4 separate regions of the Homo sapiens genome follow, and all the other regions are linked to region 1. Evidence: promoter capture Hi-C in human tissues and cell types (Jung and others, 2019). All regions are on one chromosome and are shown on one strand. Each heading gives the region's core, a stretch centred on a gene start or on the middle of the fragment in contact. The rest is flanking DNA. Distances are from core to core; before and after follow the strand shown.

The links. Contacts are between HindIII fragments. The study calls those that stand out against the background at their distance.
Region 2: a fragment that was not itself captured here is called in contact with the fragment with the promoter of RAF1 in region 1 in 1 of the 25 tissues and cell types used here (adrenal gland).
Region 3: the fragment with the promoter of NUP210 here is called in contact with the fragment with the promoter of RAF1 in region 1 in 1 of the 25 tissues and cell types used here (spleen).
Region 4: a contact is called between a fragment that was not itself captured here and the fragment with the promoter of RAF1 in region 1, in 1 of the 25 tissues and cell types used here (spleen).

The regions. Positions count from the first base shown.
Region 1 is chr3:12,662,452-12,665,508 of GRCh38, reverse strand. RAF1 (Raf-1 proto-oncogene, serine/threonine kinase) reads left to right here and starts at 1,392. Exons shown (of 17, transcript NM_002880.4): 1 at 1,392-1,696. RefSeq lists enhancers at 1,017-1,086, 1,127-1,476, 1,088-1,699, 1,700-2,310 and a silencer at 1,667-1,886. The HindIII fragment of the contact is 15,309 bases long and covers 1-3,057 here.
Region 2 is chr3:13,467,419-13,470,475 of GRCh38, reverse strand. No RefSeq gene overlaps it. Among named protein-coding and RNA genes, the nearest start is that of HDAC11-AS1, 11 kb to the left of the region's middle. The HindIII fragment of the contact is 7,067 bases long and covers 1-3,057 here.
Region 3 is chr3:13,418,734-13,421,790 of GRCh38, reverse strand. NUP210 (nucleoporin 210) reads left to right here and starts at 1,469. Exons shown (of 40, transcript NM_024923.4): 1 at 1,469-1,731. The coding sequence starts at 1,565. RefSeq lists silencers at 1,235-1,634, 1,685-2,254. The HindIII fragment of the contact is 28,440 bases long and covers 1-3,057 here.
Region 4 is chr3:12,145,021-12,148,077 of GRCh38, reverse strand. It overlaps SYN2 (synapsin II), which reads right to left. Exons shown (of 13, transcript NM_133625.6): 4 at 2,243-2,399. Among named protein-coding and RNA genes, the nearest start is that of TIMP4, 12 kb to the left of the region's middle. The HindIII fragment of the contact is 7,152 bases long and covers 1-3,057 here.

The DNA.
Region 1 (3,057 bases), core at 143-2,642:
GAGCCACCACGCCCAGCCATGTCTTTTTTTTTTTTTTTTTTGAGACAAGAGTTTCGCTCTTGTTGCCCAGGCTGGAGTGCAATGACGCGATTTCGGCTCACCGCAATCTCCGCCTCCTGGGTACAAGCAATTCTCCTGCCTTAGCCTCCCGAGTAGATGGGATGACAGGCATGCACCACCATGCCCAGCTAATTTGGTATTTTTATTTTTTTATATTTATTTATTTTTTCGAGACGGAGTCTCGCTCTGTCGCCCAGGCTGGAGTGTAATGGTGCGATCTGGGCTCACTGCAACCTCTGCCTCCCGGGTTCAAGCGATTCTCCTGTCTCAGCCTCCTGAGTAGCTGGGATTACAGGCGCCCGCCACCACGCCCGGCTAATTTTTGTATTTTTAGTAGAGACGGGGTTTCTCCATGTTGGTCAGGCTGGTCTCGAACTCCCGACCTCAGGTGATCCGCCTGCCTCGGCCTTCCAAAGTGCTGGGATTACAGGAGTAATCCCAAAAAAAGCGCCGGGCCCTTTTTTTGTTGTTTTTTAAATTCAGTAACTATCTAGTTCATTCTTGGATGGATGACAACCCAGATTGGATGTGTAGCAGCGTTCTCTTAACCAGTTTCCTATTAATCTTCATTTCATCCCCAGTGTTTCTCCAGAATGCAAATAATATGGCATTAAATATCTTCACACATAGCTTTTTGTGTATGTGTATACTTATTTCTCTAGAATTAGTGTCTAGAAGTGAAACTGCCGGGAGGAAGGATATATACTTTTAACATGTCCAAGTTCCACTGTGATAGCGCTGCGAGGGCACACAACAGGTTTCAATATACCTTGGACCAAACCGGATATTATCAGTTTTTTTAACTTGTTGCTAATGTGATGGGGGAAAAATGAACTCGGAATTTACACACAAGGAAAAGACCGTTTAAGGTTCAGGGACTGTCCACATAGCTGTCAAGTGGCGGAGCCGTGATTTGGTATTAAAGTGCCCGGAGAGGACGCGTCAAAGTTGGACACTGTGCCCTGTGTCCTGAGGCACGTCTGGTGATCGCTGGGCCTTGCAATGCTGGGCAGGCAGGCCTTCCTCTCCCCTTCTAGGCCTCTGGCCACTCCTGGCTGGCCGAAAGCCGGTTCTTCTCGATTACCGAGTGCCTCTCCTGAAAGCAAGTCAGCGTCGCCTAACCTCTTCAGCTTCGAAATGGCGGCCACCAGATCGCTAGGCCACGCCCCGGGGGCGGGGCCTGAGTTCAGGCCAGAGCGATGGATGCCCGAGCCAAGTTAGAAGTCGACTGCCAGTAGGGCTCGCGCAGAATCGGAGAGCCGGTGGCGTCGCAGGTCGGGAGGACGAGCACCGAGTCGAGGGCTCGCTCGTCTGGGCCGCCCGAGAGTCTTAATCGCGGGCGCTTGGGCCGCCATCTTAGATGGCGGGAGTAAGAGGAAAACGATTGTGAGGCGGGAACGGCTTTCTGCTGCCTTTTTTGGGCCCCGAAAAGGGTCAGCTGGCCGGGCTTTGGGGCGCGTGCCCTGAGGCGCGGAGCGCGTTTGCTACGATGCGGGGGCTGCTCGGGGCTCCGTCCCCTGGGCTGGGGACGCGCCGAATGTGACCGCCTCCCGCTCCCTCACCCGCCGCGGGGAGGAGGAGCGGGCGAGAAGCTGCCGCCGAACGACAGGACGTTGGGGCGGCCTGGCTCCCTCAGGTAGGTGGCAGGACCGGGTCGTGGATGCCGGGGGAGCCGGGCGGCGGGGCTGAGGGATCGGCTTCCAGGGCGACCGGGCCTGGGTGGCGCTGATGGAGCGGCCCCGCGGCTGCCGGGCAGAGGGCTTGGGCCAGGCCGTTGTCACCCTGGGGTAGCGTTGGGCGGGGGCCCCGGAGTCCGGTGTCATGGCCGGCGAGCCGAGTTCCCACATCCCACTCAAATTTCCTTGTGTTTGGCGGAAACGTGCCAACGCCACCCTTATGCCATGCGCATTCCTCATATTTGGCAGTGGGAAAATCCGCCCAGAGCTGCCCCATATCTGTTGTCACTTGGATGGGCCAATTCCTTTTCTCTTGGGCCGCCGAATGTGGGACCCGGGCTTGCACCCTTTCTCAGGGTACTTCAGTCAAGTGACACCCTTTTAGAGACGACGTGAGGAATCGGGTAAGAGAGGAGGAAACTGGCCAGTGCCCTACCACAAAGGCACAGGGGCCTCTTCTTGGGTATCAGGACTAGCCTTGGGTATCAGGACTCTGGGTTATTAATGAAAGGTTTGGGATACTTATAGAGGATTGGCCTCAGGACGCTTTGGAATGAAGAGCCAGGGCTGTCTTTTGTGTGACGCGAGAGCCGCCGGGACGCTTCAGCTCTGCAGCTGCTGAGGCTCTGCGAGCGAGTCGATGCCCAAGAGAGAGGGGTTTGGACGTCGTGAGAGGCGAGGCGGCCGTGTTCATTCATTGTTCTCGTTCTAGGGCTCTGGGTGTGCCCCTGGTATTCATTCTGTGGTGGGAAGAAGGAATGGAACTTAGTGTATCCTTGAGATGTGAACGGGTTCTAGGGGGTCACTTAATCTAAGTGGAAAATGAATTCAAGGCACGTTCATTGAGCGTTTCTGCTTGCCTGGTCCTCTGTGGGCTGAGTGGAGAGACTCTGCCCTCCCTGCGCTCCTAAGGCGTGAAAACAATGCAGTGTGATAAGAATTGGCTTATCAAGTGTTATGGGGATTTAGAACAGTTAGTTTTGCTTGGGGAGGAGTTGAGGAAGCTTCTACACTCGAGGAGACTTCTGAGTCGAGTTTTGAAACACCTGTGAGTAAGTGCTCATCGGGTGAGGAGGAGCTCAGGGAACAGCTGGTACAAAGGCTTAGAGCCATGTGGGAGTTGGGATGAGTTTGGGGAGCAGCAAATTGCCTGGGGTGCAGGAAGGAAATGGTGAGAGATGAGAGTAAAATAAAAGTTGCTAGAATTGTGAGGGGGCTGTCTTTGTTGTAGATAGTGAACTAGTTGAATTTGGATTATTGTACATGGGTTGCCGAGTCTTCATTCTTGCTGATAATTTTCTCCCTTTGTTGATGTTGAAGC
Region 2 (3,057 bases), core at 246-2,745, 800 kb before region 1:
AAAAAACAAAAAAAATAAAAAAACAAAAAACACACACACAAACAGAAAGAAATGTGCTTCATGTTACTCCCACCTGAAAAGTTTTCCCAGCTAATGGAACCTACACCAGAAGCTGTGTGAAATAAGCCATCCATGGACTGGACATTGCAGCTTCAGTGACAAGTAGGAATGAATTTGGCAACATGGGAGGGTAAGGGAAGCATTTGAAAATTTAACAAGATTTGGCCACCAGTGTCTGAGTTTTAACTGTAGTAAAAACCAGCCAGGCCGGGCGCAGTGGCTCACGTCTGTAATCCCAGCACTTTGGGAGGCCGAGGCAGGCAGATCACCTGACGTCAGGAGTTCGAGACCAGCCTGGCCAACATGGTGAAACTCCGTCTCTGCTAAAAAATACAAAAATTAGCCAGGCGTGGTGGCAGGAGCCTTAATCCCAGCTACTTGGGAGGCAGAGGCAGGAGAATCATTTGAACCTGGGAGGCAGAGGTTGCAGTGAGGTGAGATCGAGCCATTGCACTCAAGCCTGGGGCACAAGAGCAAGACTTCTCTCACACATACACACACACACACACACACACACACACACACACAAACACCAGCCAGGCACGGTGGCTCATGCCTGTAATCCCAGCACTTTGGGAGGCCGAGGTTGGCCGATCACCTGAGGTCAGGAGTTCAACACCAGCCTGGACAGCATGGTGAAACCTCATCTCTACTAAAAACACAAAATTAGCCAGGCATGGTGGCGGGCACCTGCAATCCCAGCTGCTCGGGAGGCTGAGGCAGGAGAATTGCTTGAACCCAGGGGGCAGTGAGCCAAGATCACACCAGTGCACTCCAGCCTGGGTAAAAAAAGAGCGAAACTCCATCTCGAAAAAAAAAAACACAAAAATCATGAACTTTACCATATTAACCATGGGTAAGTATACAGTTCAGTAGTGTTAAATATCCTTGTGCAACAGGTCTCTAGAACTATTTTTTCTTTTTCTTTTTCTTTTCCTTTTTCTTTTTTCTTTTTTTTTTTTTTTTTTTTTTTTTTTTGAGATGGAGTCTCACTCTCTTGCCCAGGCTGGAGTGCGATGGCACAATCTCTGCTTACCGCAACCTCCACCTCCTGAGTTCAAGTGATTCTCCTGCCTCAACCTCCTGAATAGCTGGGATTACAGGCACCCGCCACCACCCCCTGCTAATTCTTGTATTTTTAGTAGAGATGGGGTTTCACCATGTTGGTCAGGATGGTCTTGAACTTCTGACCTGAGGTGATCTGCCCACCTCAGCCTCCCGAAGTGCTGGGATTACAGGCTTGAGCCACCACGCCTGGCCCTCTGGGACTTTTTTATCTTGCAAAACTGAAACTGTCTTCTCCTTATACACTAACTCGCTCTTTCCCCTCCCCTTTGCCCCGGCACCCCCCATTCCATTTTCTGTCTATGAAATTGACTGCCCTAGGTACTTCATGTAAGTGGAATCACACAGTATTTTTCCTTTTGTGACTGGCTTATTCACTTAGCATAATGTCCTCAAGATTCATCCATGTCGTAGCTTAGCTCAGAATTCCTTTCCCTTTTAAGGCTAAGTAATATTCCATCATATGAACAGAGTACATTTTCTGTATTCATTCATCTGTCAATAGACATTTAAGTTCTTTCCACCTCTTGGCTATTGTGAATAATGCTGCTATGAACATGTACGTGCAAATATCCATTGGAGTCTCTGCTTTCACTTCTTTTGGACATGTACCCAGAAGTGGGATTGCTGGATCATATGGCAATTCTATCTTTAATTTTTTTAGGAACCATCATACTGTTTTCCACAGCAATTATACCATTTTGCGTTCCCACATCAGAACAAGGGTTCTATTTCTTCGCATTCTTGCCAAGAGCTGTTATTTTCTTTTTTTTTTTTTCAATAGTGGCAATCCTAATAGTGTGACATTTCACTTCCTAATAGAAGTGACATTTCACTGTGGGTTTTTTTTAATTTTTTATTATTATAAATATATTTTTGAGACAGGGTCTCACTGTGTCACCCAGGCTGGAGTGCAATGCAGTGTCTCTATCCCAGCTAACTGCAACCTCCACCTCTCGGGTTCAAGTGATTGTCCCACCTCAGCCTCCCCAGTAGCTGGGATTACAGGCGTGTGCCACCACTTCCGGCTAATTTTTGTATTTTTTGGTAGAGACGGGGTTTCACCATATTGGCCCAGCTGATCTCTAACTCCTGACCTCAGGGGATCAGCCCGCCTCAGCCTCCCAAAGTATTGGGATTACAGGCATGAGCCACCACGCCCAGCCTTCATTGTGGTTTTGATTTGCACTTCCCTACTAGTTAGTGGTGCTGAGCACCTTTTCGTGTGCTTGTTGGTATTTGTATATCTTCTCTGGAGAAATGTCTATTCAAGACCCTTATTCATTTTTTATTGTGTTGTTGTTAAGTTTTAGGACTTCTTTATATATTCTGGTTTTTGGCCTCTTGTCATATATATGATTTGTAAATATTTTCTCCTATTCTGTAGGTCGCCTTTTCACTCTGTTGGTTTTTTTGAGGTGAAGAAATGTTTAAGTTTGATGTAATTCCATTTGTCTATTATTGCTTTTGCTGTCTATCCTTTTGGTATCCTATCCAAGAAATTATTGCCAAACCCAATGTCATGAAGATTTTCCCCTGTGTTTTCTTCTAAGGGTTTTATAGTTTTAGCTCTTACATTTAGGTGTTTCATCCGTGTTAGCGTGTGCTTTCATTATTTAAATACACTCTGCATGGTCAAGCAGTCTGTAGTCTGCAGGGAAATCATTGAGACTCAAACTCGGCCAAGGTTAGGCCTAGACATGGTTCTCTTCAGGTTATTGGATGATGGGGCTCATGAAGCTTTAGTGGGCTCTGGGCTCCTTCCCAGCACTCGAGGACATGCCCACTGGTCCCCATCTTACAACATTCATTGTCCTTATCATCTTTGATGTCACCAGCCTCTCATCACACAGGTTTGCATCATATTGATATCAGTGATGAGGCCCATCTGCTCAAATGCTGCCGGGAAGATGGGCCAGGAGTGATGCTCTT
Region 3 (3,057 bases), core at 220-2,719, 760 kb before region 1:
ATGGGGAGGGAGAGGAATCACTTTCACTTGGAACCCTTTTGAGCCTAAGTTTCAACCATCTGTCTGGATTACCTGTTGGAAAACAAATCAATCTTGTGCAACCCAGAAGACACCCACAGACTTCCTCACAAATACCCTCTGAGGCTGCCTTTTCCGCGCAAGTCTGTTTTTTGTTTCTTCAAAGGGAGCCCGTTGGAATTCCCCTCCCAGAGCACCTGGTTCCACACAGGGCCGACCCTCACCCCCTTAGTTCTGGTTATCTCCAGAGATTTCCCCCAACACACACATTCCCTGGTCTAGGGCCCTCAGGCTTCGAGGGTGACCCCAAACACCCCGCATCACCATCCAAAAGCCCCATGATCCCTGAGGGGCAGGCTCAGCCTATGCGGGCCTCGCTGAAGCCCAGTGCGGTGTCTATGCCCAACCCAGGGGCCGCCGCCTCCAAAAAGCCTTCCTAGCCTTACTGACATTTATCCTCTCCTTCCTGGTCACCCAGTGGCATCGTTGTGTGTCTTCCTGGTTACAGTCAGCATCCACTTCCTGCACTCCTCAGACAGCCGGCCAGTGCACCCTCACCCCACCCTTTCCTGACCTCCCGCTAGGCTGGGCCTTCTCTGCAAGGCTAGATTCATATTTTAGCGGCACCAAGCAGTCAGGTGCCTGCTGACGCATGCCTTCATGCAATTCACGACAGACAGCTAAAAGCCACAGAGCACAGCGCGGAATCTAAGGCCTTCCATTGGTGTGCAGGTGGATTCCGCGGTGCTAAACTTTCTTTTGTGGGTGTGGGGGCCGTGGAGGGGGTTGTGCTCTGGCAGCGTTGGCGCCCTAAATGACCTATAGGTAACCTCTAATGGCTTCCGCAGGGGGTGCAGTGCGGAGGACAAGAGCTTGGGGCTCTCTGGCTGAGTGATCTGGGGGCCATTCAACCGGTTTTTTCCTGGAGAAATGGGAATCTTAAGGCCTCTCTGGAAAGGGTGTGAGGGGGTCGAGGGGGAGCGGGCCCCGGGCCTTCAGCGCTTCAGCAGGTGGCTTCCCTTTGCGAGCCCGGGGTCCCTCTTCTGGGAAGCATGGGCTGGGACAAGGCAGGCGCCGGTTTTCTGCATCCCAAATGTCCTGGGGCATGTGTCCCTTCCTTGCTGACCGTGGGTCCGGGCCAGAGCGCAAGGTCCAAAGCCGGCGGCTTGGCTCCACCGCCAGGGGCAAATACCAGGGCGGGATGCGTGCTGCGGGGCGCCCCGGGGGCTCCCCCTTGGGACTTCTAGGGTCCAGGGGTCCCCGCGGGCGCGCCCCAAGCCTTCTCCCTCAGCTCCGGGGGCCCGGGCGCGCGCCCATCCCCCAGCCCCGCGTCCCTGCGCGAGGGCCGGGCTGGGGGTGGGGTCGCCGCGAGCTCGGCCCCCAGAGTTCCCGCGCTCAGGCCCAGGAAGCGGCGGCCGCCGACGGCCCTCGCCCCGCCCCCGCGCTCATCACCTGCTGGCCTGGCGCGCGCGCGGGCGGGAGCGGAGGGCAACGGGGCGGCGCGGGCGGCCGGGCGCAGGGTCGCGGGAGGTGACGCGCGGCGAGGATGGCGGCGCGGGGCCGGGGGCTGCTGCTGCTGACGCTGTCGGTGCTGTTGGCGGCGGGCCCCTCCGCCGCTGCGGCCAAGCTCAACATCCCCAAAGTGCTGCTGCCCTTCACGCGGGCCACGCGCGTTAACTTCACGCTGGAGGCCTCGGAGGGCTGCTACCGCTGGTGAGGCGCGCGGCCGGGCCGGGCGGGCGCCGTGGGCCGGGCTGGGCCTTCGCGCTGAGAGGCTGGGCGGGCGCCGGGAGGCCGGCAGAGCCGGCAGGTGCGCGGCGCGCTCTCGCTGGGCGCTAGGCTGCAGCACTCGGAGCGGCGGGTGCGCGTGGGTCGCCACCACTGCTCATGTCATGGCGCCGTCCGGGCCTCCGCGCCGCTGAGGCGCGAGCAGAGCGGGCGCAGCCTGGCGGCCGTGACCCGCGTGTTCTGGGTTGTGCGGGAGGAGGGGTGGCCTGGGGAGCGGCGTCTGGGACCGCAGGGCCCAAGCCGGCCGGGCCCGAGCCGGCCTGACCCGGGAGGGGGCGCCGGGGCAGCTGGGCCGCACTTCCCTTGAGTCTGGGACCCCAGCTCGGGTTTGTCTGTGACCGCCCTCGCCCTGGCGTGGGAAGTGAGTCTGTGAAACGAAGCGCAGCGCCTAGCGTCGCGGGGAGGAACGGAGACCCTGGAGGAAAGGAGTTTTGGAGGGAAGCCCAGGGGCCGCTTTACAGAGGCGAAGTGAGACGAGGCAGGCCGGCGCTTCCCCTCAGGCTGCCTCGGCGCGGGTCCTGATGCTCAGGGCATTTCCATCACCCTCCCTCTCGGGTTGGGAGTTCTCCAAGGGGTCGGATGCGGAGTGTGACCCTGTGGAACCACAGGGACCCATGAAACCAGAGACCGACACTGACAGGGCGGTGCAGTCCAGCCCTTCCATTTTGCAGACCAGGGGAAATGGAGCTCCTGCCCCTGGCAAGGCTGCGTGGGCACGACTGAGCGCCCTTAGCTTCCCAGCCCAGCCGTCCTAGGGGTGAAAAGATGGGCTTCCGCCCTTCCCACCCCCAGGATGCTCAGTAGTTGCTCCCTTTATTTCTGTTTCAAGACTGGGTCAAGGTTGAGGCAGAACGGGGTGTGACCACGTGACAGCCATGTGTGTAAGCCTGGACATGTGTGTGTCAAGCCTGTTTGAGTATTAGTCTGTGCGTGTATGTAAGTGTGATGCCCGAAGCTCAGACCAGCCAGCTTTCTCTGTTGCTTGCACTATTTGCCCTATTTCTTTCTTTCTTTTTTTTTTTTTTTTTTTTTTTTTGAGACGGAGTTTTGCTTTGTCGTCCATGCTGACGTGCAGTGGTGCGATTTCGGCTCACTGCAACCTCCACCTCCCGGGTTCAAGCGATTCTCCCGCCTCGTAGCTGGGATTACAGGTGCAGGCCACCTGGCTAATTTTGTTTGTTTGTTTGTTTGTTTTTAGAGTGCACTCCAGCCCTTGTTGCCCAGGCTGGAGTGCAATGGCGCGATCTCTGT
Region 4 (3,057 bases), core at 188-2,687, 520 kb after region 1:
CAGTGGTGCGATCTTGGCTCATTGCAAGCTCCGCCTCCCGGGTTCACGCCATTCTCCCGCCTCAGCCACCTAAGTTGCTGGGACTACAGGCACCTGCCACCACACCCGGCTAATTTTTTTTGTATTTTTAGTAGAGACGGGTTTCTCTGTGTTAGTTAGGATGGTCTTGATCTCCTGACCTCGTGATGTGCCTGCCTCAGCCTCCCAAAGTGCTGGGATTACAGGCGTGAGCCACCACGTCTGGCCACAAATTTCTTTAAGAGAACCCATACACTAGGAGCCTGTAACAACCAGGCTGTCAAAGTGGTGGCAGGTGCTACTATTATTCCCAGTTTGTAGATGAAGAAACTGGGGCACAGGTTCGGTCAGAGAGTTGATAAGCAGTGAAATCACCCAGAAAAAGCTGCTAATAGCAGGATCACCCTGTGTGGCTAGGAGAGAGTCAAATTCTGACAAGTACCGGGGGTGCACGTGGGTTAGGACACGTGTGCCGTAGGAAGGACATGTGACTGAGGAGAAAGGGGAGGTCCACAAAAAAGACACTTGGTAAAGGTCTCACATATGCTCTTCTGTGATTGGCAACATACTAAAATCACACTCTGTTAGCGTGTTTCTGCAGAATCTAGGATTCCAGATGCCTCAGGCCACGCAGAAGGAAAGGCTGAACAAGTGGAGCTTGGGAACCCAACCCCCTCCTTAACCATGGCAGCTCCCAGCCCTCCTGACTACTTGTCCATTGATCTTTTTCTTACACTCCAAGCTCTCCCTGGCTTCAAAAGGAAAAAGAAAGCTGTTAGTTCCAGGGTGAAAAAAAAGATCAAGATCAGAAGTGACAGATCTGTTTGGTTAACACACACACATACACACACACATACACACACACACACACCCCTCTTCAGCTCTCTGAGTGGTGTAAAGGCGTGGAAACTTCACAATTAGACACAAGTTCCAGGAACCTTGGCAATCCAGGGCGTGTGACAGCTGAAATTTCATTTTTACAAAACAAGAAGGGCTTACTGCATCTTGGGGTCCAGAAGTCCCTCCTAGGGGCCTGGAAGATGCAGGGTCTGGATCCTAGCCTTTTACCTGGGGGAAGGGGGCCTCACTTTCCACCCATGGCTTGTCACAGAAGTTATAAATGGATTCCAGTGAGTTGATGCAGGGGAGGCCTGCATACTGCAAGCCAATGAGGATGTGATTAGGGGTAGGTGTTACCTTCTGAGAGGGCCAGCCTGAAGTAGCAGAGCCAGCAGAGGAGCTGGGTCCCCTCAGTGGTCGGAGGGGAAGCCAGAGTGCCCCCAAAGCCATCATAAGTCACTCTCCCTCCTAGCCCCACTTTTTCTATCTGCCTAAAAGTTTCCACTGCCCTCCTAGATTTCCAAATTGGCCAAGGAAGAGAAAACCAGAACAGTTTCCTCCTTATATAGGAGCCTCAATCTATGGGAGAGGCAGTGGGATGTAGAGAAATCCTGGCACTGTAACTTTGGCAAGTTACTTAATCCTTTTTGGGTTTTGTTTCTCTGTAAAAAGTGACAATAATGATATCTTCCTTGTAAGGTGAGGATTAAATGAAATTAACAGAAAAATCTCAGAAACTGGCATCCTATAGTAAGTAGTTTTCTACACCTTACTTTCCTTCTTTAATTTTCATATCTCTATCATGAAAGGTTAAGGTCAGAATTAGGGTTAGGCTTTGATGATCTCCAAGACACTTCTAGCTCATAAGTATTTGATTCACATGCATGAGGATAAATTTCATTTTCAGGTTGCTGAACCACTTGGTAGGACTCTGTCACTACCTGAGTTGGACTATTCCCTTGGTTGTCACTGGGCTCAGGCCTTTCCAAAAGTTTAATCATTCTAGGAGGCAAGAAACAGACATTTTTATCATTGCAGCCTATGGCCAAGGGCAGAGCCTACAGACCTATAAGGGCTTCTTCACGGTATCTTTGTGCGACTTTGTTGTGAGGCCAAAGGTCCACTCCGCAGCAAAGGTGCTGAGCCTGTGACAGGTGATGCTGTGCTATTCTGATGGCCAGCCCTCCCCCATGTCCCAGGGGAAGCTCCTCTCACATCCTCTTAGCTGGGGCCAACTGCATCTTGAGGACCCTCCTAGGGGCCTGGAAGATGTAGGGACCCTCCTGGGGCTGGGGCCTACTGCATCTTGAGTCCCTGCTAGGGACCTGGGAGATGTAGGGCCTGAATCCTACCCTTTTACTTGGGGGAAGGGGGCCTCACTCACCACCCATGGCTTGTCACAGAAGTTGTATATGGATTCCAGTGAGTTGATGCTGGGGAGGCCTGCATACTGCATACCAATGATCAGGTGGCGGAAGTCCTCATTCTCCGCCATGCCAAATGCATGCTGCCGGATGAGCACGAAGTCTGGCCGGAAGGACCTGGTGAGAAGGTAGAGGCAGGTTTGCCATTAACCAGCACTTCAGGCCATACATCATTTTGGTTCCCATTTCCAAAACCCAAGATAAAGAAGAGGGCTTAGGAACCACCTAGTCCAAGCCCCTCATTTTACTGTTGTTATTTTAGAGACAGGTCTTACTCTGTTGCCCAGGCTGAAGTGCAGTGGCACAACCATAGCTCACTGTAACCTCAAACTCCTGGGTTCAGGTGATCCTCCTGCCTTAGCCTGCTAAGTAAGTAGTACTACAGGCACACATCACCATGCCCAGCTAATTCTTTATGTTTTGGAGAGACAGGGTCTTACTTTGTTGCCCAGGCTTTTCTTGAACTCCTGGGCTCAAGTGATCCTCTCGCCTCAGCGTCTCAAGTAGCTAGGACTATAGGCAAGTGCCATGACCCCTGGCTAATTTTTTCATTGTTTGGAGAGATGAGGTCTCACTATGTTGCTCAGGCTGATCTCAAACTCCTAGGCTCAAGTGATTCTCCTACGTCAGTCACCCAAAGTGCTGGGAGTGCATGCATGAGCAACGGTTGTAATTTTATTATTATTATTCCTTTCTGGACTGGGAAATGGGATATTATGGTACTCTCCTTTTTTGTTTGTTTGGTTTTTGTATTTTTTGTTTTTTTGAGACAAGT